Linked DNA regions of Homo sapiens: regions 1, 2, 3, 4, 5 and 6 are each linked to region 7. Evidence: promoter capture Hi-C in 16 types of primary human blood cells and fetal thymus (Javierre and others, 2016). All regions are on one chromosome and are shown on one strand. Each heading gives the region's core, a stretch centred on a gene start or on the middle of the fragment in contact. The rest is flanking DNA. Distances are from core to core; before and after follow the strand shown.

Region 1 (2,839 bases), core at 91-2,590, 440 kb after region 7:
AATTAAAAGGGTGACAAGCTAGTGTTTTAGCCTATCCAGTTCCGGGAGTTTGCACGCAGACGCTCTGCTTCGTGACCTTGGCTCTGCTCTGTGGGCGCCGCCCCCAGCCTGGGCGCGTCCATCGTCGAGTACCTTCTCCTCTGCCTCCCCCTCCCTCTGCTTCTATCTCTCTCCAATTGCCCTCCCTGGCCTGCGGCCGCCCGGTCCTCCTTCCCAGCCCAGTGCAGCCAGGCACCCGGGTTCGGCTTGCTCAGGTCTCTGTCCGGGACTGGGAAGCCACGGAGGGCCGGGAAAGTGGCACACTCCTGGAGCTCAAGCTTCCTACTCTCTCATCGCTGAATAACTACCGGGCAGGACTGGGTGGAACAGACAGCATATTTAGGTCATTGATGGGCTGCTGGGTGGATGGAGCTGGAAAGTGATGGGCACTGCTTTCTGGGGCTGCCCAGGTTCCTTCCGAGGGCTCGCTTTTCCTGGGCAGAGCGGGAAAGAGGAGGGGCAGGCCGGTCGCGAAACGCAAATAGTCGAGAATAGCGATCCGGGGAGAAGCAGGTGTCTGTGGGGCCCAAGAGAAGTACCATCTCGGTAAGTAGGCCGGTGCATGCAGGGGAGCGCAGAGCCCTAAGCCCTTCTCTGGGGTCCGCCCGTTTTCCTGCTGGGCTTCTCATTTCCTCACTAGGTTCTACGGTTTGCCGATCTAAATCCAGTTCGTGTCCTATTGTATTGTGTAACATTTTTGGCAGCTTACATCTTTGTTTATTGAGATATAGTTCACAAACCATACAATTAACATATTTAAGTGTACATTTCAGTGGGTTTTAGTATATTCACAGGGTTGTGTAACCACCTCAATTTTAGGACATTTTCGTCACTCCCAAAAGAAATTTTGTACCAGTTCGGTGTCACTCCCATTTCTCCCAAACCCCTAGTCCTAGGAAACCACCAATCTTTCTGTCTCTATGGGTTTGCCTATTAGTATTTCATAGAAACAGAAACATATAATATGTGGTCTTTTGTAACTGGCTTCTGTTTTCAAAGGTCGTCATATTGTAGCAAGGATCAGTTCTTCATTCCTATTTATTGATGAATATTACTCTACTGTATAGATATACTAAGTTTTGTTTATCCATCTATAGTTAATGGGCATTTGGATTGTTTCCACTCTTCGGCTACTGAGAATAAAATGTGGTTATCAATATTCATGTATAAATTTTTGGTGTGGACATAGATTTTCAATTCTCTTGAGTATATATGCAGGAGTGGAATTGCTGGGTGATATGGTAACTCTATGTTTAATCTTTTAAGGAACTACTAGGCTGTTCTCCAAAGCTGAATGTACCATTGTGTATGAGAGTTCCAATTTTTCTACATCCTCACCAATACTTTTAATCTTTTTTTATTATAACCATTCTAGTGGATACGAAATGGTATCTCTTTATGGTTTTGATTTGTATTTCCCTAATGACTATGCATTATTTTAAAATTATAAGCTAATTAATTTTTACAAAGATTTACATGCTGTGATTTTGACAACTTAACTTCTAGGTCACATGCTCAAAAGTCACAGAGCCTAGACCCAAACCAAGCCTTTCTATGGCTAATGCTCGAACTCCATCCTCTCTTTCCTAGAAGGCAATCTGGGATAAATTTTTCAGAACTCCATTTGTTGCCTCTGTTAGAAAGAAAACACTGGGCAAGATGAACCTGCAAGTAGAGTAAATGGTTTATTTCTTATTTGCTTTTAGGAGTATGTAAGGAGATTTTTTGGTCTCCCGTTTTTACTTTATAAAAAATGAGTGAGTGGGCCAAGCGCTGTGGCTCATGCCTGTGATCCCAGCACTTTGGGAGACCGAGGCAGGCAGATCACCTGAGGTCAGGAGTTTGATATCAGCCTGACCAACATGGCAAAACCCCATCTCTGCTAAAAATACAAAAATTAGCCGGGTGTAGTGCCATGCACCTGTAATTCCAGCTATATGGGAGGCTGAGGCATGAACATTGCTTGAACCCCGGGGAGACGGAGGTTGCAGTGAGCCAAGATTGCACCACTGCACTCCAGCCTGGGTGACAGAGTGAGGCTCTTTCTCAAAAAAAAAAAAAAGGAAAGAGAAAGCTCTTAATTGAAGTAGTAACCCTTTCTTGGGTGTTCAATGATATTGTGCTTCTCTTCATGTAAGTGCCCCTTAGATTCCTCCTCCTCACTACCATCAGGTCATAGAATAGGGAGGGGCACTCAGTTTCAACAGCAGTGGCCTCCAAATTTTGTTCAAATGCATAACTATAAAAAGTTTTTTGTATACATTCTCTATATATAGCTATACATTTTATACATACACTACTATCAGTCTTGATTTAGACATTACTAAAGCTTAATTTTTCTCTCATTTTTTTTCAGTTAAAAATTCAGATTGAACTATCTTACAAATGGCTCCCAGAAGATCCACTCCCTGTGGGAACACAGCAGTTGTGGAAGTGAAGACAGGACTGGACCCAGAATAAGGGTTCAAATATGTGGGGAAATCTGACCTCTAAATTCTTATAAGTCAGAGAGTGACTGAACAACAGCAGTGAGACATCGAAGAGTTTTAATATCTGCTGTAAACCTTGGCACAGATCATTTACTTCTCTAAGACTGAATCCAAAAAGCACAATGGAATACTATAATAAGCTGAGACAGCATGGTGAATTCCAGACAAGCCTGAGCATTCCCTATAGCCAGAGAAGGAGGCCCAACACCTAACATAGCCTTGGATGCAGAACTGATAGAACTTGGGGAAAGTGATGAAGTAGTTGACCTCACCTGTGAATCTCTAGCACCTGTAGTGATTGACCTAACTCA
Region 2 (2,700 bases), core at 56-2,555, 410 kb before region 7:
CCCCCTTTCCCCGCTTTTCCAGAACCACTTTTTCCTTTGGGCGGCATCTTGGAAGCTTGTTGTTGAACTCTGAACTCTGGGCCTGGTTTTTACCCCAGTTTGAAAGAATCTGAATTCCAAACTACCCCTGATGCAGAGCTGGGACCACGGTTTGAGTCTCAAGTCTGCCTGTTGGGTGGAGGGCTTTAAGAGGCAGGAATGGGCCAGACACGATGGCTCCCATCTGTAATCCCAGCACTTTGGGAGGCCAAGGCAGGTGGATCACTTGAGCCAAAGGGTTCAAGACCAGGCTGGGCAACATAGACACTGTAACTATAAAATTTTTAATAAAAGAGAGGTAGGAATGGGGAGAAGGGGAATATGTCATGCCTAACTGGGTTTCATCAAATACCGAATATCCTTGTAAAAACCCAGCATACAGCATCTTGAGCTTATAAGGTCAATATTTTTGGATTTCTGCAGCTGCTCTCAGTCTCTTCAGCCTCCGTTCTAGCTGTTCTGACTTTGTGGAATGATGGGGTAGAAACTCTCTCTGCTCTTCTTGAGGGGGCATGGGAGTAGTCCCTGGCCAGCTCCCTCTCTTTTCCTCTGAGAAGGAGCTGGGTCTAGAATAGGCTGAAAAGCTCCCCTATCTTTAGACACTTCAGAGCACAAAACAGTTTGAGAAGATCTTGTTGCGGGGGTGGATTTCTCTTACATTTGGTAGGAGGAAGGGGTATTCTATCCCCTAAAACTACCCATTATCTCTTCTCTCTTCCCAAGGTTCTCACAGGACTCAAGCCCTGGCAGGGAAAACAGGAGCTGGTTACACTCTCAACTGAACAGCAGCCACCCAGGCCAGAGGCTTTGGGCATATAGTGAGTGAGCGCGGCCCCCATCACAGTGCTCCCAAGGAAATGGCTTCTTGTTTTAGGCTCAATGTCTGCATTTTCCACTCCTGGCCATCTTGGTGATGCTGGTGTGGTTCTCTCTGCCTTTGTGACCTATGACAAGAAAAGCCAGTCCCCTTCTGTTGCCCTGAAATAGTCCCTGACAATCCCAGACTGAACCAGATTCCCAGCTCAGTAAAGGTTTTACCTAAGTCAGGTTGATTAGGGAGTTTTTTGGTTCAGGGCTAGCTCCAGAAGCCCAAAGGGTCTCTTTTTTCCCCTTCTTCCAGGACATGAAGCAGTCCAAAGGTCTCTCTTAAAAAGGTGTTAGTAACCTTTCAGAAGCAGTGTGTCCCATCTTCCTTGGCTCCCTCATGGCTTGGCCGTTTGCACCCAGGCAGCCTGCCTGACCAGCCTTGTGGAGCCTGTCTTGGCACAGGCACAGTTAAGGATTCTCCAGAGGAATGAGCCCTGGAATCTGGGTTATGAATGAGTAGGACAATGGGGAGAGAGGGTGGGGGCAAAGGCAGGGCACCTGCCATCTAGTTACGCTCCCCATTGCGTCACGGCTCATATATTTGCCACAGCTCTCAATCTCTGCTTTCAGAAGCTCCTCATAGTCTTAGCTGTATTTTTTGTCCCTGTGCTAAAATCTTAAATTTGTATAATGCTTTCATCTTTTTAAAGCACTTTGATTTTATCTTTCAGTAACTCCACAAGGTAGTGAGGGCAAGAGGTTATCTGAAGTCATGTGGTTGGCAGTTAATGGCAAAACCAAGGATAGAATCCAAGCCGCTTTCTAGTTCATGATCCTGCTGATCATATCTATTAAGTCCTCATGTTGTCAACAGGTTCCTGGAAACCATGACTTTAAGCCAAATGATGTTACAGCAGGTCCTCCAATGTTTTCTTCAGCATCATTTTGTTATAATTTTTTTAAAGTTCTTTAGTTTTTTGAGACAGTCTTACTCCATTGCCTAGACTGGAGTGCAGTGGTACAATCACGGCTCACTGCAGCCTCGACCTCCCAGGCTCAGGTGATCCTCCCACCTCAGCCTCCTGAGTAGCTGGGACTACAGGCATGTGCCACCACGCCTAGCTAATTTTCGTATTTTTTGTAGAGACAGGTTTTTGTGCTGGGATTACAGATGTGAGCCACCACGCCCAGCCCCATTTTGTTATAATGTTGATGAGAAAAAAAAAAGTTTAATTGTACATCATTTTGCTTAAAGTTGCAGTTTCTAAAGACCCTGTCAACGCTGTTAAGTGATGACTTAACTGTAGTCGGATTCCATGGAATGGAACCATGGGCCAGGACGGATTAAATCAACAGCCAGCATCTACCTTAGATTTAGGTCTTAATTGCTCGAGAAACTGTTTTGAAATAACCTGAAATTAAGAGTCTCTGTCCCTTGTTCTAGAGCTCTTGCTGTTCCTCTGATCTCTCTTCCACAGTATTCCTCCCTGATGTCCCCATTTGCACATGCAGCTTGAGGAATATGTACCTTGGGACAGGTTATGGGTCACTGATAAAGCAGAAACCTTAAGGCCCTGGTTGCAGCATATTGCTTGCTTGGCTCCTTTCCCAGGCAGTCCTCAGCCCCATTGCATAGGGCGCCTGCCACCCTTTCAAAGGCCTGCCCCTTCATGAAGACAGCTCTGACTGCAGGATCTTTCAAAGTATGAAAAGCTTAGCTTAACCTACGATTACACCCCTCAGCTTGTGGGGAAGGAGAGGCAGATGCTGTGACATCAGAAGAGGAAAATGTCAGAGGACCACCTGGAGCCACATCATACTGGGAGCTGTTGGTGCTCTCATTAAACAAGATAA
Region 3 (2,700 bases), core at 142-2,641, 390 kb before region 7:
CACTGTGTCTTCAAAAATTCATATGTTGACATTGTAACCCTCAGTACCTCAGAATGTGACCTTCTTTGAAGACAGGATCTTTACAGAGGTAATTAAGTTAAACTGAGGTCATTAGGATGGGCCCTAATCCAATATGACTGGTGTCTTTGGAGAAATCTGGACAGAGACATGTACAGAGGGAAGAAAGCGTGAAGACACAGGCAGATGACAGCCATCCACAGGCCAAGGAGAGGGGCCTGGAAAGGATCCTTCTCTCAAAGCCCACAGGAAGAACCAACCCTGCTGACACCTTATCTCAGATCTCCAGCCTCCAGAACTGTGAGACAATAGACTTCTGTTCTTTAAGCCACCCAGTCTGTGATACTTGTTACAGAAACCCTAGGAACTAATATACTATTCTTTTAATTTTTGCTTGAAGCTTAGTATCCCCTCTCCAGTTAGGAAGAAAAGGTTGATGTCTTCCTGTTCCTGGCTGATACTGCTTCCTTCAGATCAGCTTGCCAGTTGGTTTTACTGGTGATACTGGACCCTCTCCAGTAATGGAAAGAGAGAGGCAGAAATGTGGAGAAACTGAGGTAGAGACCAGGAGTGTCAAAGCAACAGGGACAGGAGGTAACGTGAAGGGCCACAGCCACAGAGAGAGACTGGAAGGGGCCATGGGTCTGCACAGGCCTCGGCAGTGACTGGCTGCCCCCGCTCATCTCCAAAATGCCAGATGTGCATGAGTAATTACAGAGGTTTTCTCTGGGCAGCCTCCCCGGCTGGTTCTCGTCTATCCCTCACAGGCGCATAATGGCATTAAATGTGACTCCACTGCAGTTCCGTGCAGTGACTTATGCCACTGCAGTCAATAAAACCCACTCTCGGAAAGAAACTAGATTACAGGTCAGGAAAGGGTGGGCAGGCACTGAGCCGCCTCTGATCGTTCTCTGTGGGGGGCCTTCCATATCCCTCCTCTCTTCATTTCTACCAAATTACCCATTGCGGGGCCCTAGCTTTGGATTTGTTATTTAGATTGACTTTGCCTCGGTTCCTCTGACATTGATGTGGCACCACAAAATTATGTAGCATGTGATCCAGAGGAGTTTTCAAAGCAGGCATTTTCTCTGATATCTCACTGAAAGTGCCAGCCATGTAAACGTTGAAGGGGGCCTCTGAGCGCAGGCATGGGGGCTCTTGCTCCTGATGCCTTCTAGAGGAGGAAAGGTCATGCAGTCTCCAACCAGGGGGTCTTACCTTACATGGGTGAGGATCCACTCCATATGTTTCCAATGTCTGTGCTTTTCTTAAGAAGTTCAGCTCTGATGTTGCTGGTGTTTGACCACTGGAATAAAGAAGATGAGATGATTTCAAGGTGTCTTGTTCCCACAGGTTCCCCTGAGGTAAACTCTCTATGAAGATGTGCTTAGGATGAGCCACACATCTCAGTTTGTCTAGGGTGTGCTCCCTGCTTGGTTCTAGGACCAACTTCGAGACTCCTGCTAGAGTCTCTGACTGTCTTCAAACGTTTTCAGAGTGAGGCAGGCTACATAATGAATTACTTGGGCTGAGTGTAAACAATGGGGAGTGGTGGGGACTGTGGCAGCACCATCTTAACTCTGAGATTCCCATCACTGAGAATGCAGGGCCCACTACTTGGGAGGCTGAGGTGGGAGGTGGGAGGATTGCTTGAGCCCAGGAGTGCGAGGTTTCAGTGAGCTATGGTCACAGCCCTACACTCCACCCTGAGTGACAGAATGAGACCCTGTCTCAAAAAAAAAAAAAAAAGAATGCAAGGCTTAGCTAGATATTGTGATTTTAAAAGAAAAGTCAGAGATACTGATTTTTATGTGGTATTTCACAATTTAAAATACTATGGGGTAAAACAAAATACATCTGTAGGCTGGAAGCAGGTCATAGGCTTCTCATATGTGATCTGTTCTAGACTGAAATATAAAGAAGGGGCTCATATAGCTTGCTGGTGCCACCCAGCCCTCTTCCTTTGCCAAAAGGAAACACAGGAAATTAGGGTGAGGAGAGGCAGGAGACAGTGCTGAGCTCCCATGCTCCACAACAGCTGTCTGTCCATAGGGTGATGACCAGGAAAATGAAAGATGCTGAAAAAGGCAGAGATCAGCTCCGGCTCCAGGCCATCTGAAGGGGCCTTTGGCATCACCCCTTCCCACTGCCTCTTTAGCAGGTGTGTTGATGGGCTCATTGCAGACCCAGTGGCAGAATAACCATCAGGCTCTTGCCTGGGTCCAGAGCCCTGCAAAGCAGATATACTTCTACAGATACAGGTTTGGCTTCAGTGAGGAGGGGTGGGCAGCTTGTGAAGTCAACATCTCTGATGGCTGGTGGACAGGACTGCACGTTGCTCGTTTCTAAGCTTATCATTTGCCTCAGGTGATATGGCCAGGCAGGAAGATAAGCTGACCCCAGGCCAGATTCCCCCTAGTGTCCCTCTGGAGAGGCATTAGTCAGGCAGCACCTTTATGTGCCAGCCTCTGTGCTACTTGCTGGAAAATATATGAAGAAACACAGTATACAGTCTGTGCTCTCAAAAGCCCATATCACAGTTGCATAAAGGAAGCATGGATGTATTTTTACATTATGAAGACGAGGCAGGACCTATGGAAAAAGTACCTGTGGAAGGGGGTATTGCTGTGAATAAAGACTTCTGCATCCACTAGTGTACCTGAGGCACAGGGAAGGTAAGTT
Region 4 (2,700 bases), core at 29-2,528, 340 kb before region 7:
TATCTCAAAAAAAAAGAAAAGAAAAAAGAGACAGGGTTTTGCCATGTTGCCCAGACTGGTCTCAAACTCCTAGACTCAAGTGATCCTCCTGCCTTGGTCTCCTAAAGTGTTGGGATTACAGGCGAGAGCCATTGCTCCTGGCCGTAAGAGAGTACTTTAATATTAAGGATTAAGTAGGCCCAGAACTGTAAGACCTTGGATATTTCATGATACTTTTAACTCACCTCTGTACTGGGTAGAATAGTGTCCCCCAAAATTCATGTTCACACAGAACCTTAGAATGTGACCTTATTTGGAAATAAAGTCTTTGCAGATGTAATTAGTTAAGATGAGGCCATACTGGATTAGGGTAGACCTAAATCCAGTTATTGGTTCCTTATAAGAAGACCATGAAGAGACATAGACACACACAGAGGGAAGACAGAGGCAGAGGTCAGAATGATGTAGTAACAAGCAAGGAATGGCAAGGATTGCCAGCAACCACTAGCAGCTGGGAAGAAGCAAGGAAGAATTCTTCCCTAGAGTCTCCAGAGGGAGAATGTCTCTGCTGACACCTTGATTTCAAACTTCTAGTTTCCAGAACTATGACAGAATAAATTTGTTGTTTCAAGCCAGTTTGTGATTGCTATGGCAGCCCTAGAAAATGAATACAACCTCTCCTTCAGGGCAAAAGTTCCACACTGTCCATGAAGTCTTTCCTTACCAAATCTGGCCATTGTGACCCCTCTTTCTACTTAGAGCAAAGCAGACTTTGTTATTTTGCACTTGGGGCTCTCCATGATTGGTCATTTACTTATCTTTTCAGTACCATATCCCATCGGCCACTGCCTTAGTCCTTTTCTGTTGCTTATAACAGAATATCTGAAACTGGGTAATTTATAAAGAAAGGAAATTTATTTCTTACAATTATGGAGGCTGAGAAGTCCAAGGTTAAGGCACTGCATCTGGCAAGAGCCTTCTTGCTGGTGGGAACTCTATAGAGTCCTGAAGTGCCACAGGGCATCACATGATCATGGGGCAGAGTGGGCTAATGTGCTCGGCTCAGATCTGTCTTCCTCTTCTAAGAAAGCCACCAGTTCCATTCCCATGATAACCCATTAATCCATTAACCCTTTAATCTATTAACGCATTAAGCCATTCAGGAGGGCAGAGCCCTTACAAATCCCATCACCACTTAAAAGGACCCACTTCTTTTGTTTTTGAGACGGAGTTTTCACTCTTGTTGCCCAGGCTGGAGTGCAGTGGCGCAATCTCTGCTCACTGCAACCTCCACCTCCCGAACTCCCGGGTTCAAGTGATTCTCTTGCCTCAGCTTCCTGAGTAGCTGAGATTACAGGTGTGAGCCGCCACGACCAGCTAATTTTTTTTTTCGAGATGGAGTCTCACTGTGTTGCCCAGGCTGGAGTGCAGTAGCATGATCTTGGCTCACTGCAACTTTCACCTCCTGGGTTCAAGCGATTCTCCTGCCTCAGCCTCCCAAGTAGCTGGGACTACAGGCACCCGCTACCGGCTGGGTTCCTTGGAGTCTGTCCCACGCATACATAGTTAAAGGGTCAGTCAGATATTTGGGCAGGATTTATGCACAGAATTTGGGGCTTCCCATTTGCCTCTCTCCTTTCTGGAATTTTCCTCCTCATTTTCCAGCTGCTGTGGCTATCCCAAGCTGTGGCCTCTGTGGGTTTGATAGAAACTGTGGGTTTCTATAAGTTTATTTATTTATTTTTTTTTTTTTTGATAGAGGGGGGGTTTCACCATGCTGCCCAGGCTGGTCTCCTCCTGAGTTCACGTGATCTGCCCACCTTAGCCTTCCAAAGTGCTGGGATTACAGGCATGTGCCATAGCGCCCGGCAGGTTTCTATGAGTTTATATGACACCAGATAGGACATCTCCTTAATCTAAAAGCCATTAAAAAATGGGAAACTTACCCACTGCCATTTCCTTCTTCCAAGGGTAGACCCTACACTACCCTGCCTACTTTTTATTATGCTCCAGTGGCATTAGGTGGTTGCTTTTTATATTTTATTCAACATTTACACTTATCTGTGGGAGAGTTGGTTCAATAGGAAGTGCTTGGTCATTATAGGAAGTAAAGACTCCCTTCATTAAAAATGTCATTTTTTTTAAATAAAAAATTTTCCTGAACCCAAAGAACTAGAAAGAATACTAAACAAAAGCCAAAGTCACGGTCAGTTGTAGGCAGAGGAGAACTGATTTAAATTACTACTGAGGACATTTCAATCTTTTTTAAAATATGAAATTACTTTTACTTGTTACAGTGGAATATCATTATGAATGAAGTAGGTCCTGGGTACCTGAGCCTGTTATATGATTGCCAAGCCCTCATCCTATGCCAACATAGGACACTCATACAAAAACACCACATGGAACTTCTTGGACACACAACTGCATGCATCCCACTGTAAATGTACTGAAGTGTAATATAACCTTTGTGAAGATTTCTTAGGCATATGGACGGGAGGGCACATTGCACCATAGAAAGCAAAACTCTGCCCCCTGCCCCCCAGATCTTTTAAAAATGTCTTCCCCAGGTGGTGGCTCACCTGTAATCCCAGCACTTTGGGAGGCCAAGGCAGGTGGATCACGAGGTCAGGAGTTCAAGACCAGCCTGGCCAAGACGGTGAAACCCTGTCTCTACTAAAAATACAAGAATTAGCTGGGCATGGTGGCATGTGCCTGTAA
Region 5 (2,700 bases), core at 95-2,594, 360 kb before region 7:
TATACACAGGCAAACCTACATACATATACATCTCCTCTTTTAAAAATACATTTTGTAACATATTTTTAAGCTCTTTTCTCCCACTTAGGGTATCCTGCAAATCCTTCTATGGCAATATATATAGATATGCCTCACAGTTTTTAACTGCTGCATGTCACTGCAATGAATCTAAAATTATTTACCCAGTTCCATATTGATGACATTTGTTTCTAATTTGCTATTACAAACAATGTGGCAGTGAACATACAATGATCTTTATGTTACTCACTTCTCTTAATTCTTGTTGCTCTCAGAATAAAATGAAAACTCTGATCATGGCGTCCCAGGCCCTATACAGCCTGGCTTCTCTCTGCACTCACCCAAAATCATTTTCCTCACTACACTTCAGCCATGGCCTTTCCGTTCTGAACTCCCCAAGGCTTTTCTGCCACTGTCTTTGCATTCCCTCTGCCGGGAATGTTCTTCCTGCAGCTCTCTGCAGCCACTCCTATTTTTTGAGGACTCAGCTCAAATGTCCCCTCTTCAGAGAGGCCTTTCCCTATAGTACAGCCCTTCCCAGTTACTTTCCATCTCATTTTGCCATTTATGTCCTTCATAGCACTTATACCAATCTGTAATTATCTTGTTGATTTGTTTAGTTATCTATTTACTATCTGCTTCCTTTCTAGACTGTAATTTTCATGAGGTCAGAATCCTTCCCCCAGAACTTAGCACAGGGCCTGATGCATGGCAGGCAGGTCCTCAATAATTATTTGTTGAATAAATTACTGAATGAATAGAAGGGAAAAGGTTTGCTAAAAGATTTCACAAAATGGTGAAAAGCTAGGCCGTTTATAACCCATAACCTTCTACTTCAGAGACCTGCCTGGATGCCAAGGGTGAAGTGGGAGGAGAATGACTTGCAGGAACCTGTCAAAACATCTGGAGCCTGCACAGCATCCATCGCTGGCCTGTCCCCAGTGGTCTCTGCAGCTCAGTTCAGATGATCATCTCTGGCGGGTCTATGTCTAATTTTGCATACAAATTGAGGTTGTATGAGGAATTTCTGTAGTGTAGTGGTTATCACGTTTGTCTCAGAAATTGAGGTTGTAAGATAAGATCCAAAGATCTCTCCTGTGCCAAGGCCCAAGGCCATGGGTAATTACAGAAGGGCCTGGCCCTGCCCCAAGAATGAGCATATTTTAAAGACCTTCACAAAAGGTTTACACCTCACCTCTTCCCCTTCTGCTAACTCACCACATACTATCCAAGGAGAACTAGGGCAGGATGCTGATCTCGCGGCAGTTATGTTAAGAAGTTTGTCCTTGCAGGAGCTGGAAGAATAGGTGAGTAGACAGCTCAACTACAGAAGGAGGCAACATGTGGGCAACACCCCTCCTCTTCTGAGACAGGAATAATACAGGGTGGTCACAGGAGAATAAAAATTCCAGACAGCAGTTTCACATGACTAGAGGCTATGGGCTGATAAGACCCTGAAAAACAGGGCATAGACCAAGCTAGCTAAGACCCACTGAACCCAATGTGTGGCTGGATTTGACCTAGGTTTCTCCTAGGACCTCACTATAAACTCGTTAACATACTAGATCACACACCTACCAGCGCCAGGACTGTTCCAAGACCACCCATATTTGCTGTAAAAATAGGTGCCACTGCAGTTATGAGAAATCTCTACCTTTTCCCAAGAATTTTCTTGAATATTCCACCCCTTGGTTAAAGAAACCCATAAAGACAGAAACCCCAAACCCCACTGAATGACTCTCTCAAGTATGCCTACGCTCCCTTTTCTTGAATGTGTACTTTGCCCTTTGCAATAAATCTCAATAAATCTCTGTTCTTTTACTATTTTCTGACTCTTCCTTGAATTTCTTGAAAGAATTCTTATCTTCTCAATGGTGTCAAGAGCCTGGACACCAGGTGGGGTGGAGGTCTCACTGGCGTTTGGGGACCTCCCCCAGCCCACTGGTATCACTTCTGCTAGCCTCATACTCCCTCTCACAACATAAGCCTGAACTCGCAGGCCCTATTCCTCCTGTCTTTGGTCCCCTACAGGAAAGAGTGACTCTCAGGACAGAGACTCGTTATGAATCACACTGGGACTTCTGGGTGGTGGGCCACAAACCAGGTCTTTCAAAGGACTCCGTCAGAACTTTCTTTGTGCAGGGCCTATTAACTACTTCTTCACTGATGCCAAGAGAGTGAGAAGAGCTTAAAGAGGTATTTCAGGTTCTCTGGGAGCAGAGGAAACATGTTCCACTCTATCCCATGCAGCATATCCTATACTATTATCTCTCTCAGAGCAACTGAAATGGAACAGTGAGAGACAGTAGCATATTTTCATTGCTTTTCTCTACAAATTTTACTTTGCACCAAGCTGGCTTTTACATTGTGATCAGCTGGTGCTTTTTTTTTTTTAATGAAAAAATGTTTTTCACAAACACTACTACAGTATGATGTGAGTTTTACGGGCTGAAGAAGTTTGCTTCCATACATACAACAACCAGATTAGCAATGGGACAGAGATAGCTATAGGGAAAACATGCTTCTGTGATGGAAATCATACAGACTTTTAATAAGAATCCTGCCTTTCATAAAACAACTCATTCTCATGGGCTGCGAGTTCAGATGCACTTGTAAGGCTCTTAGCTGGTAAGAACCCTGAACTTGGTAGATCCAACTTCAGATTTCTTCCACTTCACAGGA
Region 6 (2,700 bases), core at 4-2,503, 440 kb before region 7:
GTGTTGAATAAATGAGTGAATCCACATACATTTTTACTATATGTTGTAATGTATATACAATTTTGCATTACACTTTTTTCTTTTTCTTTTTTTTTTTTTTTTTTTTTGTTTTTTGAGACAAGGTCTCCCTCTATCGCTTAGGCTGCAGTGCAGTGGCACTATCTTGGCTCATTGCAACCTTCGCTTCCTGGGCTCAAATGATCCTCCCACCTCAGCCTCCCAAGTAGCTTGGACTACAGGCGTGCACCATCACATCTCACTAATTTTTGTATTTGTAGAGATGAGATTTTGCTGTGTTGCCCAGGTTGGTCTTGAATACCTGGGCTCAAGTGAGCTGTCTGCCTTGGACTCCCAAAGTGCTGGGATTACAGGTGTGAGCCAGTGTGCCTGGCCTGCGTTATGTTTTTTTTCATTTGCGGTTGCATGTTACTAGAGTCTTTAAAATTATTGAATAATTATAAAATATTCCATTGAGTAGAAGGAGTTCACTTCTCCTCCTACCTGCTTGGTATTTGCGGTTGTTTTCCATTTAGCTTTGTGTGTTTGTGTATGTGTTTGTTGAAGTATATGGATATGATAGTGGATTATTTCTTTAGGTTAGATTTCCAGAAGTGAGATTAATGCATCAAATATTGTGAACATTTTTATGGCTTTTAGTACACATTGCCGAATTGTTGCTCAAAGGTCTTTTTTTTTCTTCTGAACATTTTATATGAACTTACTCTTCCACTAGCAATATGTGTGAGTATGTGTATTTAACTGCAGCCTACCAGCTTTTGGTGTTATTAAAATTATCAAGGGTAATTTAAAAAGTGAAAGAATATTGCTTAATTTGATTTCCTTGGTTACCAGGAGATTGAATAGTTCCCATATTTATTTGCTAATTGTGATTTTTCTTTTTGAATAATCTTTTACTTATTTTGACTATTGAGATTGGTTTTACTTACAAAATTTAACTTTGTAATTTTCTTAGCTACAAAGCCAATTTAAATGGCATGGTCATTAGTGAAGATACCGTTTACAAAGTTACCACAGGCCCAATATTCTCTATGGCTCTCCATCCATCAGAAACTAGAACTTTGGTAGCAGTTGGGGCCAAATTTGGGCAAGTTGGACTTTGTGATTTGGTAAGTTATTAAATTTCTTGAATATATTATAGTTTGACTAAAGCAAATAGGCTGGAAGAGAATAGGCTAGAGCCATGTGTTTATAAATGTTGCGTGAGACTTACAATTTTGGGCTTTATGATGCTTTATGATTCCAAATTTTAGAAATCTGGAAGAATTTAAATTTGCTTTATAGAACTTTAATATTTTTAGCTTGAATATCATTAACCATCTGGTCATAAATTAACTGCCAGAAAACTTTGTTACACTTTGTGTGATCTTTTCACATATACATTTAAAGTGGCCGGGTGCGGTGGGTCACGCCTGTAATGCCAGCACTTTGAGAGGCTGAGGCGGTCGGATCACCTGAGGTCAGGAGTTCGAGACCAGCCTGGCCAACATGGTGAAACCCCGTCTGTAGTAAAAAAATACAAAAATTAGCTGGGCGTGGTGGTAGGTGCCTGTAATCCCAGCTACTCAGGAGGCTGAGGCAGGAGAATTGCTTGAACCCAGGAGACGGAGGTTGGAGTGAGTCGACACTGTGCCATCCAGCCTGGGTGATAGAGTAAGACTCCGTCTCAAAAAAAAAAAAAGGGCTGGGAGCGGTGGCTCACGCCTGTAATCCCAGCACTTTGGGAGGCCGAGGCGGGTGGATCACGAAGTCAGGAGATCGAGACCGTCCTGGCTAACACAGTGAAACCGCGTCTCTACTAAAAAACCCCATCGCTACTAAAAATGGAACAAATTAGCTAGGCGTGGTGGCAGGTGCCTGTAGTCCCAGCTACTCGGGAGGCTGAAGCAGGAGAATGGCGTGAACCTGGGAGGGGGAGCTTGCAGTGAGCCGAGATCGCACCACTGCACTCCAGCCTGGGCGACAGAGCGAGACTCTGTGTAAAAAAAAAAAAAAAAAAAAAAAAAAAGATCAAAGTTTAGTTTTCTTTTTTTGGAGAGGGAGTCTTGCTCTGTCGCCCAGGCTGGAGTGCAGTGGTGTGATCTCGGCTCACTGCAAGCTCCGCCTCTCAGGTTCACGCCATTCTCTTGCCTCAACCTCCCGAGTAGCTGGGACTACAGGCGCCTGCCACCATGCCTGGCTAATTTTTTCTATTTTTAGTAGAGGTGGGGTTTCCCCATGGTCTTGATCTCCTGACCTCGTGATCTGCCTGCCTTGGCCTCCCAAAGTGCTGGGATTACAGGCATGAGCCACGGCGCCCAGCCCGAAGTTTAGTTTTCTAGTTGTGTTTAAAATATGGTCTGCTATGGTCTGAATGTTTTTGTCTTCCCCAAAATTCATATGTTGAAATACTAATCCCTATGGTATTAGGAGGTAGGACCTTTGGGAGGTGATTAGGTCATGAATAAGATTAGTGCCCTTATAAAAGAAACCCAGGAGAGACCACTGTCCCTTCTACCATATGAGGACACAGCTAGAAGGCACCAACTATGAACCAGAAAGTAGGCCCTTACCAGACACTGAATGAACTGGAAGCTTGATCTTGGTCTTCCTAGTCACCAGGACTGTGAGAAATAAAATGCTGCTGTTGATAAGCCACTCAGTTTATGGTATGTTGTTTTAGCATCCCAAATGGACTAAGAA
Region 7 (2,700 bases), core at 98-2,597:
GACAAGTCTTCCTGCCTCAAAATCATATCACTCTGATTCGAATAAAAAATACCAAGGTTTTTCCTTCTTGAGGTTTTATACTCATGGAAGTTCTTCAACCTGAGGTCTGAAAAATAAGGCAACCCCATCCTCTCCTTAAACAGGTTAGAGCCAGTACCTTTTTATTTCTCTATGCACGGACAAAATAATTATGCAAAAAAAAAAAAGAGGCAGGTTTTGTTTTTTTTTTTGCACTACTGAAATTCACACTTAACATATAAACAATCTGCTATATGCAGACAGCACTGGTGTTTAGAGTTCAATGATCTGGATTCAAGCCTATTTAAAACCAGATAAGAGAAAGTTCCCAAACATCTATGTGTCTTGGATTCTTCATCTGTAAAATTGCGTTGTTGAGAAGATAATATGAGACTAGGCGCGCAAAACAATTTGTTAGAGCTATTATTTCTAACCCGGAATGTGTTCGCTGGCAGTAACAGTGCATTAGTTACGATTCATCGAGGGCAGCTTCTGGACTTTCTGTTTGGAAGCCCAGCTGAGGCAAAAGCAGCAGTGCGTTTAAAAATTGGAGCTCGCCACATTCTGAAATTCTTTCGGTTCGTGAAAGCAGTAACCTAGGAAACGAGACTGGCACCACCCCTTTCAGTCCTAAAGCTTGGTTTCTCCCGCTTTTCTCCATTATGTTTAGGGCATCGCTATTTTACAGTCTTTTTGTTTTTTCTTTCCACATCATTAGCACAAAAGAGAAATTCCCCTTCTACAGAAGCAAGTACAAAACCTTTCTAGTCGCTCCTTTTTGGCAGCAGCTCACCTACTATTTTTTTCTATTCCGCGGTCGCAGCCCCAGACGTCCTCAAAGACAAATATTTTCGCGAGGGCCAGTGTAGGGCAGGAACTCCCTAGGCCTTGAATCAAGGGAATCCAGTAGATAACAACAGAAAGGACTCCGACCCAGGTACCTGAGACATCTGAGACCGCCAAAATTAACACAACACCCTACGCGACAGAGAAAACTCTGGGCGGGGAGAGAGAAAGAGAGCGAGCGAGCGAGAGAGAGAGAGAGCGAGAGAGAGAGAGAGAGAGAGAGAGAGAGAGAGAGAGAGAGAGAGAAAGAGAGCGAGCGAGAGAGAGCGAGAGAGCGAGAGAGCGAGAGAGCGAGAGAGCGAGAGAGAGAGAGAGAGAGAGAGAGAGAGAGAGAGAGAGAGAGAGAGAGAGAGAGAGACGAGAGGAAGCAACGTTCTCGCGACAAGAGGGGTGTCGACGGAAACTCGGAAATGGTCCCCTAGACGACCCGGCCCCAGCTAGTGGGTGGGGCCAGGGTACATCCGCCCCTTTCCGGTTTTTTTCCCCGCCTCCCAACCGTGAGGTGTTGGGTTTGGGGGACGCTGGCAGCTGGGTTCTCCCGGTTCCCTTGGGCAGGTGCAGGGTCGGGTTCAAAGCCTCCGGAACGCGTTTTGGCCTGATTTGAGGAGGGGGGCGGGGAGGGACCTGCGGCTTGCGGCCCCGCCCCCTTCTCCGGCTCGCAGCCGACCGGTAAGCCCGCCTCCTCCCTCGGCCGGCCCTGGGGCCGTGTCCGCCGGGCAACTCCAGCCGAGGCCTGGGCTTCTGCCTGCAGGTGTCTGCGGCGAGGCCCCTAGGGTACAGCCCGATTTGGCCCCATGGTGGGTTTCGGGGCCAACCGGCGGGCTGGCCGCCTGCCCTCTCTCGTGCTGGTGGTGCTGCTGGTGGTGATCGTCGTCCTCGCCTTCAACTACTGGAGCATCTCCTCCCGCCACGTCCTGCTTCAGGAGGAGGTGGCCGAGCTGCAGGGCCAGGTCCAGCGCACCGAAGTGGCCCGCGGGCGGCTGGAAAAGCGCAATTCGGACCTCTTGCTGTTGGTGGACACGCACAAGAAACAGATCGACCAGAAGGAGGCCGACTACGGCCGCCTCAGCAGCCGGCTGCAGGCCAGAGAGGGCCTCGGGAAGAGATGCGAGGATGACAAGGTAAGGACGACCCTTTTCTCTTCAAACCCCATGGTTTCTTTTCTCCCCGGGGTCTGGGGCGGGATGTTAATCCGCTAGCTGTTGTCTTATGCCTTCCAGTATTTCAGTCCTGAAGGCTCCTTTCACCCCCAACAACCCTGTTTCTGTCAGACTTTTCCCAGTTTATCAGTGCCACGTTCTCTGGTCCCTGCCAGAAAAAAATGACTGTAAATTCTGGTTCTCAAGAGTGGACTGTGTGCAGATGCTGCCTATTCTCTAAGCTCAGCTGGTGAGTTGGCAGTAGTAATCATCTGGCCTGTGTGGCCCCCTTACCTTCAAAGACACACAAATCTGGCGACTGCCAGGTTTGGTGTGGTTATTGTCTCATTTTTATTCCGTGCACACTGATCAATATTAATTTCGTTATTTAAAGAACGAAGCCGCCTCTGACTCCTCTACTTATGGTAGTCATCATATATTTTTTAAGCTGTGTGACTTTTAAAATCTCTATAGGGTGATGTATTGAATAACTAAATAATCAGCTATGACTGCCTTTTTGTGATCAAAATGTTATGATAGATGGGCCCTCGAGCTATATGTGAGACACACTTGTGTCTTGGACATAGTTGATCCATCATTATCTACTCAATTTGAATTGTTAATGAAATCAGCCAAAAGATTAGAATCTGAAAATAAATTTTAAGCAGTGGAATGTCATGTCAGTGTCTTCATTGAA

Evidence for each region. The method cuts DNA at HindIII sites, captures the fragments that hold promoters and counts their contacts. A CHiCAGO score of 5 or more calls a contact.
Region 1: a contact is called between a fragment that was not itself captured here and the fragment with the promoter of GOLM2 in region 7, in 1 of 17 cell types (fetal thymus). The highest score is 9.9, in fetal thymus.
Region 2: a fragment that was not itself captured here is called in contact with the fragment with the promoter of GOLM2 in region 7 in 1 of 17 cell types (endothelial precursors); the score reaches 5.6 in endothelial precursors.
Region 3: a fragment that was not itself captured here is called in contact with the fragment with the promoter of GOLM2 in region 7 in 1 of 17 cell types (endothelial precursors); the score reaches 10.5 in endothelial precursors.
Region 4: a contact is called between a fragment that was not itself captured here and the fragment with the promoter of GOLM2 in region 7, in 1 of 17 cell types (endothelial precursors). The highest score is 5.6, in endothelial precursors.
Region 5: a fragment that was not itself captured here is called in contact with the fragment with the promoter of GOLM2 in region 7 in 1 of 17 cell types (endothelial precursors); the score reaches 5.3 in endothelial precursors.
Region 6: a contact is called between a fragment that was not itself captured here and the fragment with the promoter of GOLM2 in region 7, in 1 of 17 cell types (endothelial precursors). The highest score is 6.0, in endothelial precursors.

The regions. Positions count from the first base shown.
Region 1 is chr15:44,728,968-44,731,806 of GRCh38, forward strand. It overlaps the pseudogene RNF4BP. Among named protein-coding and RNA genes, the nearest start is that of TRIM69, 6.1 kb to the right of the region's middle. RefSeq lists an enhancer at 1-915. The HindIII fragment of the contact is 2,051 bases long and covers 316-2,366 here.
Region 2 is chr15:43,876,198-43,878,897 of GRCh38, forward strand. All of the region lies in intron 13 of FRMD5 (FERM domain containing 5), which reads right to left. It also overlaps the pseudogene PIN4P1. Among named protein-coding and RNA genes, the nearest start is that of WDR76, 51 kb to the left of the region's middle. The HindIII fragment of the contact is 2,504 bases long and covers 54-2,557 here.
Region 3 is chr15:43,900,939-43,903,638 of GRCh38, forward strand. FRMD5 (FERM domain containing 5) reads right to left here. Exons shown (of 14, transcript NM_032892.5): 7 at 1,237-1,324. Among named protein-coding and RNA genes, the nearest start is that of WDR76, 75 kb to the left of the region's middle. The HindIII fragment of the contact is 1,950 bases long and covers 417-2,366 here.
Region 4 is chr15:43,943,237-43,945,936 of GRCh38, forward strand. The region is part of intron 1 of FRMD5 (FERM domain containing 5); the gene reads right to left. Among named protein-coding and RNA genes, the nearest start is that of WDR76, 120 kb to the left of the region's middle. The HindIII fragment of the contact is 4,978 bases long and covers 1-2,700 here.
Region 5 is chr15:43,925,332-43,928,031 of GRCh38, forward strand. All of the region lies in intron 1 of FRMD5 (FERM domain containing 5), which reads right to left. Among named protein-coding and RNA genes, the nearest start is that of WDR76, 100 kb to the left of the region's middle. RefSeq lists an enhancer at 2,584-2,700. The HindIII fragment of the contact is 5,118 bases long and covers 1-2,700 here.
Region 6 is chr15:43,842,928-43,845,627 of GRCh38, forward strand. It overlaps WDR76 (WD repeat domain 76), which reads left to right. Exons shown (of 13, transcript NM_024908.4): 8 at 974-1,127. Among named protein-coding and RNA genes, the nearest start is that of WDR76, 17 kb to the left of the region's middle. The HindIII fragment of the contact is 2,674 bases long and covers 1-2,590 here.
Region 7 is chr15:44,287,372-44,290,071 of GRCh38, forward strand. GOLM2 (golgi membrane protein 2) reads left to right here and starts at 1,348. Exons shown (of 10, transcript NM_138423.4): 1 at 1,348-1,985. The coding sequence starts at 1,659. RefSeq lists enhancers at 407-1,313, 695-764, 1,160-1,454 and a silencer at 1,265-1,624. The HindIII fragment of the contact is 5,453 bases long and covers 653-2,700 here.